2 separate regions of the Homo sapiens genome follow, and region 1 is linked to region 2. Evidence: promoter capture Hi-C in 16 types of primary human blood cells and fetal thymus (Javierre and others, 2016). All regions are on one chromosome and are shown on one strand. The core of a region is centred on a gene start or on the middle of the fragment in contact, and the rest is flanking DNA. Distances in the headings are between cores, read along the strand shown. Region 1 has its middle 6.4 kb from the start of MOB2. Region 2 holds the start of MUC5B-AS1 (MUC5B antisense RNA 1).

Region 1 (4,385 bases), core at 570-3,069, 240 kb after region 2:
CCACCCACATGTCGACATTTGTATCTATACTAAGCTAAGCAGGGGTTCCCCTGAGGTCTCCAGCCCACCCCTGCAGCCATCACTGCCTGGACCACACTGGCCCCTCCACTTGCTCGTCTGTAGCCTCCCCTCCAACAAGGAGACTCGTGGAGAGCTTCGTGTTTTTAATCACTTTGTGAAAACAACAGAAGAAGGAGCTCAAAAGCTACGGAAGCAGCAAAACAATGCCCCCGGCACCCTCACAAAGGCACAGGGAAAGTGGGGTCACTTAAAAGCAAGCAGGAAAGTTTCACAGTTGAGTCCAATGAAAATCAAGAAGAATAGAGGAGAGTAACACTCTCCCACTGACAATTAAAACATCCCAGAAAGACACACACATAACACAGACGAAATCACACAACACAGATGAAGACACACAACACAGACGAAGACATACACATAACACAGGCAGAGACACACAACACAGACGAAGACATACATATAACACAGGCGGAGACACACAACACAGACAAAGACACACAACACAGACGAAGATATACAACACAGCCGAAGACACACACATAACACAGGTGAAGACACACAACACAGACGAAGACACACAACACAGACGAAGACACAACACAGATGAAGACACACACATTAACACAGGTGAAGACACACAACACAGGTGAAGACATACAACAGATGAAGACGCACAACACAGACGAAGACACGCGCATAACAGATGAAGACACACAAAGACACACAACACAGACGAAGACACACAACACAGATGACACAGAACACAGATGAAGACACACAACAAAGATGAAGACACAACACAGATGAAGACACATAACACAGATGAAGACTACAACCCAATAAGACAATCAGGGAAACAATGCAATTTAAGAAAATATTTGAGGCCAGGTGCAGTGGCTCATGCCTGTAATCCCAGCACTTTGGGAGGCTGAGGCAGGTGGATCACCTGAGGTCAGGAGTTCAAGACCAGCCTGGCCAACAAGGTGAAACTCTGTCTCTACTAAAAATACAAAAATTAGCTGGGCGTGGTGGCAGGCGCTTGTAATCCCAGCTACTTGGGAGGCTGAGGCAGAAGAATCGCTTGAACCCAGGAGATGGACGTTGCAGTGAGCCGAGATTGCACCATTGCGCTCCAGCCTGGGGGAGAAGAGCGAGACTTTGTCTCAAAAAAGAAAAGAAAAAAGAAAAAGAAAATATTTGAAAAAAGAGGCAAAATAAGAATCAGGAATGAGAGGATAAACCATTTTTGAAATGAAGTCTAAATTAGAATACAAAAACCACCATGATGTCCAAGTAGAAGATGGGAAGGAAGAATTTCTTAAAATAATAAAGGAAAGAAGAGATTTCTGCTTCCACTCATGACAGAGTAACTGACACTGGACCTCACCTCCACTGTCAACAACTACAAACTGGGTAGAATATATGAAGTGCTTGGCTTCAGACCCAGGATACCGCCGTGCAGGACGGTGGCCCCTGCGCACAGGCGATGACTGGGAGCCTCTCAGGCTGCAGGTGGGGATGGTGAAACCACATGGGGCCTGCAGTCTGGAGAAGCTGAGGTGGCAGGGATGGAAGTCTCAAGCCGCTGAGCTGTTGAAATTTGCAGGATGAGGAGGCAGTCAGGACAGAGCTGCACAGAGAAGGGACTCTAAAAACATCAACAGGGATCCAAGGAAGCTTCTGGACAAATAGCTGAGGGTGTCAGAGAGAACATCTGCAAGACCTGGCAGAGAACAGCTCTGGGAAGCGTGAGGAAGAGAGGTTCTGGAGGCCACACGGGGCAGGAGACAGACGTGTTCCCACACCCAGACTGGAGACACCTTGGGCGAATAGATTTAACAGAGATTCCACAATGGCTGTGCCATGGGGACTGGGCTACAATAGCCCAGAGTGAGGGGGTTCTCTGGACCTGGCATAATAAAGCTTAAAAACAAGCCTCAAACGGATCCTAGCTAACCAAGAGCAAATTAACTGCCTTCCAGAACAAACCACACTACTCTTTAAGGGAGGAAAACAGAACTGAGACTTTCAACAACATTGCTACCACAATACCTAGTGTACAAAAAAATTACTAGACAGGTGAAGCAGAAAAATGTAACTCATAACCAGGAAAAATAAGTCAACAGAAACAGGCCTAGAGATAACAAAGATAATGAAAGTAACAAACAAAGACTTTAAAAGAATGAAATAAATATATTCAACGATTTATTTATTTATTTAGACAGTGTCCTCTATTGCCCGGGCTGGAGTGCAGTGGCACAATCTCGGCTCACTGCAACCTCTGTCTCCCAAGTGATTCTCCTGCCTCAGCCTCCAGAGCAGCTGGGATTACAGGCGAACGCCACCAAGCACAGCTAATTTTTGTATTTTTGTAGAGATGAGGTTTCACCATGTTGGCTACGCTGGTCTCAAACTCCTCACCTAAAGTAATCTGTCCGCCTTGGCCTCCCAAAAGTGCTGGGATTACTGGCATGAGACATTGTGCCCGGCCAATATATCCAAAGATTTAGAGGAAAGGTTGGACATAATCAACAAAGCAATTAGGGCTCTGAAAAAATCGGAAACTCCACAAAATAATAAACAAAAATTCCTGGAACTGAAGAATACATCGAAAATGAAATTTTTGAGATGAAATGAACATCAGATTAAACAGTGCTAAAGAGAAGATTACAATAAAAACATCACTTATAAAAATGTGTAGAATGCAGCTAAAGCTCAGCTGAGGAAGAAATTTATAAATGTTCATATTAGGAGAGAAGGCTTAAAATGAGTGATTCATACATCCACCTTCAGAAGCCAGAAAAAGGAAGTGCATATTAAATGCAAAGTGGAAGGAAATAACAGAAATCTATGAAATGAAAAATAGACAAATAATGAAGAATTAAACACAAAGTTAGCCTGGAAAACTTAAAAAAAAAAAAAGATCAATTTCCCAAGCAGACTAAGCAGAAAAGAGACAGAGAGCCAAGAGAGGAAGAGGGCATAAATTACCGATATCAGAAATGAAAGGGACATTCCTACAGATCCTACAGATATTAAGCGGGTAACAAAGCACTATAAGGAACTGAATGCCAAGAGAAAATGTAGATGAAACAGACAAATTTTTCACAAACACAAGCTACCAAAACTGACATACAAAGAAGTAGAAAATCTGAATTTATAATTAAAAATCTTTCTACAAGGAAATGGTGGGTGCAGGTGGCTTACGGATGAACTCTACACACGATATAAGTAAGAAATAATACAAACCATACACATACTCTTTCAGAAAACAGAGGAGGAGGACCAGCATAATGCTGCTGCCAAAGTGAGACAACAGCATTCCTAGAAAAGGGAAATTACAGCCCAATATCCTTCATGAATGTGGATGCAAAACTCTGTAATAAAATAGTAACAAACTAATTCAACAACGTATTGAAAGGATAATACAGCATAGCCAAGAGAGATTCACCCAGTAATGTAAGCTTAGCTAACACCTGAAAATCAATGTCATTCACCACATTAATGAAAGGAGAAAAAAATATGGCCATCTCAATTAGATGCAGACACAGCACATGGCAAAACGTGTATGCAAACTCTCAGCAAACCAGGAACAGAAGGGACCATCCTCAGCTGAGAAAGGACACCTATAAAAAATCTGAAGCTAACATCAAATGCTGCTGATGGAGTAAAGATTTTCCCCCTAAAATCAGAAACAAGGAAGGGGCTCTGAGCACTTCTCACTCTCACCACTCTTATTCGGTGTCACTCTTATACCAGCGGCACAATGAGGCCACTGTAATGAGGCAAGACAAAGGTATACAAGGCATAAATACTGGAAAGGAAAAGGTCGTCTTGTTTGGCAGGTAACATGGTTATGTAAACAGAAAAGTCTAAGGAAACTGGGGCAAGTCTGCTAGAACTAATAAGTAAATTTAGTGGCATCACAGGGCACAAGGTCAGTAAAGAAAATTAATTTTATTCCTATATAATAGCAACAAATAAATGGAAAATACAATTATAAAACTGCTATTTACAATATAATTTTTAAATTTAGGAATAATCTTAACACAAATGTACAAAGCCTCTCACTGAAAAGCACAAAACAATGCTGAGAAAAATTAAAGACCTAAACACATAAAAAAATTTGCCATGGCCATGGATTAGAAGACTCAATATTGTTAAGATGTCAATTTTCTTAATTAAATACAATCCTATCAAAATCCCGGGATAATTTCTTATTTTTAAAAGAAATTAACAAGAAGATTCTTGGTTTTTTGTTTGTTTTTTGTTTGTTTGTTTTGAGACGGAGTTTCACTCTTCTTACCCAGGCTAGAGTGCAATGGCACAATCTCAGCTCACTGCAACCTCTGCCTCCCGGGTTC
Region 2 (3,160 bases), core at 498-2,997:
CTCCTCAACTCCGGGGACGACCTGGATCCTCACAAAGCTGACCACAACAGCCACTACGACTGAGTCCACTGGATCCACGGCCACCCCGTCCTCCACCCCAGGGACCACCTGGATCCTCACAGAGCCGAGCACTACAGCCACCGTGACGGTGCCCACCGGATCCACGGCCACCGCCTCCTCCACCCAGGCAACTGCTGGCACCCCACATGTGAGCACCACGGCCACGACACCCACAGTCACCAGCTCCAAAGCCACTCCCTTCTCCAGTCCAGGGACTGCAACCGCCCTTCCAGCACTGAGAAGCACAGCCACCACACCCACAGCTACCAGCTTTACAGCCATCCCCTCCTCCTCCCTGGGCACCACCTGGACCCGCCTATCACAGACCACCACACCCACGGCCACCATGTCCACAGCCACACCCTCCTCCACTCCAGAGACTGCCCACACCTCCACAGTGCTTACCACCACGGCCACCACAACCAGGGCCACCGGCTCTGTGGCCACCCCCTCTTCCACCCCAGGAACAGCTCACACTACCAAAGTGCCGACTACCACAACCACGGGCTTCACAGTCACCCCCTCCTCCAGCCCAGGGACGGCACGCACGCCTCCAGTGTGGATCAGCACAACCACCACACCCACAACCAGTGGCTCCACGGTGACCCCCTCCTCCGTCCCGGGGACCACCCACACCCCCACAGTGCTGACCACCACCACCACAACTGTGGCCACTGGTTCTATGGCAACACCCTCCTCTAGCACACAGACCAGTGGTACTCCCCCATCACTGATCACCACGGCCACTACGATCACGGCCACCGGCTCCACCACCAACCCCTCCTCAACTCCAGGGACAACACCTATCCCCCCAGTGCTGACCACCACCGCCACCACACCTGCAGCCACCAGCAGCACAGTGACTCCCTCCTCTGCCCTAGGGACCACCCACACACCCCCAGTGCCGAACACCACGGCCACCACACACGGGCGATCCCTGTCCCCCAGCAGTCCCCACACGGTGCGCACAGCCTGGACTTCGGCCACCTCAGGCACCTTGGGCACCACCCACATCACAGAGCCTTCCACGGGGACTTCCCACACCCCAGCAGCAACCACCGGTACCACCCAGCACTCGACTCCAGCCCTGTCCAGCCCTCACCCTAGCAGCAGGACCACCGAGTCACCCCCTTCCCCAGGGACGACCACCCCGGGCCACACCACGGCCACCTCCAGGACCACGGCCACGGCCACACCCAGCAAGACCCGCACCTCGACCCTGCTGCCCAGCAGCCCCACATCGGCCCCCATAACCACGGTGGTGACCACGGGCTGTGAGCCCCAGTGTGCCTGGTCAGAGTGGCTGGACTACAGCTACCCCATGCCGGGGCCCTCTGGCGGGGACTTTGACACCTACTCCAACATCCGTGCGGCCGGAGGGGCCGTCTGTGAGCAGCCCCTGGGCCTCGAGTGCCGTGCCCAGGCCCAGCCTGGTGTCCCCCTGGGGGAGTTGGGCCAGGTCGTGGAATGCAGCCTGGACTTTGGCCTGGTCTGCAGGAACCGTGAGCAGGTGGGGAAGTTCAAGATGTGCTTCAACTATGAAATCCGTGTGTTCTGCTGCAACTACGGCCACTGCCCCAGCACCCCGGCCACCAGCTCTACGGCCATGCCCTCCTCCACTCCGGGGACGACCTGGATCCTCACAGAGCTGACCACAACAGCCACTACGACTGCATCCACTGGATCCACGGCCACCCCGTCCTCCACCCCGGGAACAGCTCCCCCTCCCAAAGTGCTGACCAGCCCGGCCACCACACCCACAGCCACCAGTTCCAAAGCCACTTCCTCCTCCAGTCCAAGGACTGCAACCACCCTTCCAGTGCTGACAAGCACAGCCACCAAATCCACAGCTACCAGCGTTACACCCATCCCCTCCTCCACCCTTGGGACCACCGGGACCCTCCCAGAACAGACCACCACACCCGTGGCCACCATGTCCACAATCCACCCCTCCTCCACTCCGGAGACCACCCACACCTCCACAGTGCTGACCACGAAGGCCACCACGACAAGGGCCACCAGTTCCACGTCCACCCCCTCCTCCACTCCGGGGACGACCTGGATCCTCACAGAGCTGACCACAGCAGCCACTACAACTGCAGCCACTGGCCCCACGGCCACCCCGTCCTCCACCCCAGGGACCACCTGGATCCTCACAGAGCTGACCACAACAGCCACTACGACTGCGTCCACTGGATCCACGGCCACCCCGTCCTCCACCCCAGGGACCACCTGGATCCTCACAGAGCCGAGCACTACAGCCACCGTGACGGTGCCCACCGGATCCACGGCCACCGCCTCCTCCACCCAGGCAACTGCTGGCACCCCACATGTGAGCACCACGGCCACGACACCCACAGTCACCAGCTCCAAAGCCACTCCCTCCTCCAGTCCAGGGACTGCAACTGCCCTTCCAGCACTGAGAAGCACAGCCACCACACCCACAGCTACCAGCTTTACAGCCATCCCCTCCTCCTCCCTGGGCACCACCTGGACCCGCCTATCACAGACCACCACACCCACGGCCACCATGTCCACAGCCACACCCTCCTCCACTCCAGAGACTGTCCACACCTCCACAGTGCTTACCGCCACGGCCACCACAACCGGGGCCACCGGCTCTGTGGCCACCCCCTCCTCCACCCCAGGAACAGCTCACACTACCAAAGTGCCGACTACCACAACCACGGGCTTCACAGCCACCCCCTCCTCCAGCCCAGGGACGGCACTCACGCCTCCAGTGTGGATCAGCACAACCACCACACCCACAACCACCACACCCACAACCAGTGGCTCCACGGTGACCCCCTCCTCCATCCCGGGGACCACCCACACCGCCAGAGTGCTGACCACCACCACCACAACTGTGGCCACTGGTTCTATGGCAACACCCTCCTCTAGCACACAGACCAGTGGTACTCCCCCATCACTGACCACCACGGCCACTACGATCACGGCCACCGGCTCCACCACCAACCCCTCCTCAACTCCAGGGACAACACCCATCACCCCAGTGCTGACCAGCACGGCCACCACACCCGCAGCCACCAGCTCCAAAGCCACTTCCTCCTCCAGTCCAAGGACTGCAACCACCCTTCCA

The links. Contacts are between HindIII fragments. The CHiCAGO score rates a contact against its expected background, and 5 or more counts as called.
Region 1: a contact is called between a fragment that was not itself captured here and the fragment with the promoter of MUC5B-AS1 in region 2, in 1 of 17 cell types (M0 macrophages). The highest score is 5.1, in M0 macrophages.

What each region holds. Positions count from the first base shown.
Region 1 is chr11:1,491,028-1,495,412 of GRCh38, forward strand. No RefSeq gene overlaps it. Among named protein-coding and RNA genes, the nearest start is that of MOB2, 6.4 kb to the left of the region's middle. The HindIII fragment of the contact is 246 bases long and covers 1,697-1,942 here.
Region 2 is chr11:1,247,929-1,251,088 of GRCh38, forward strand. MUC5B-AS1 (MUC5B antisense RNA 1) reads right to left here and starts at 1,748. Exons shown (of 2, transcript NR_157183.1): 1 at 1,693-1,748. MUC5B (mucin 5B, oligomeric mucus/gel-forming) reads left to right here. Exons shown (of 49, transcript NM_002458.3): 31 at 1-3,160. The HindIII fragment of the contact is 25,137 bases long and covers 1-3,160 here.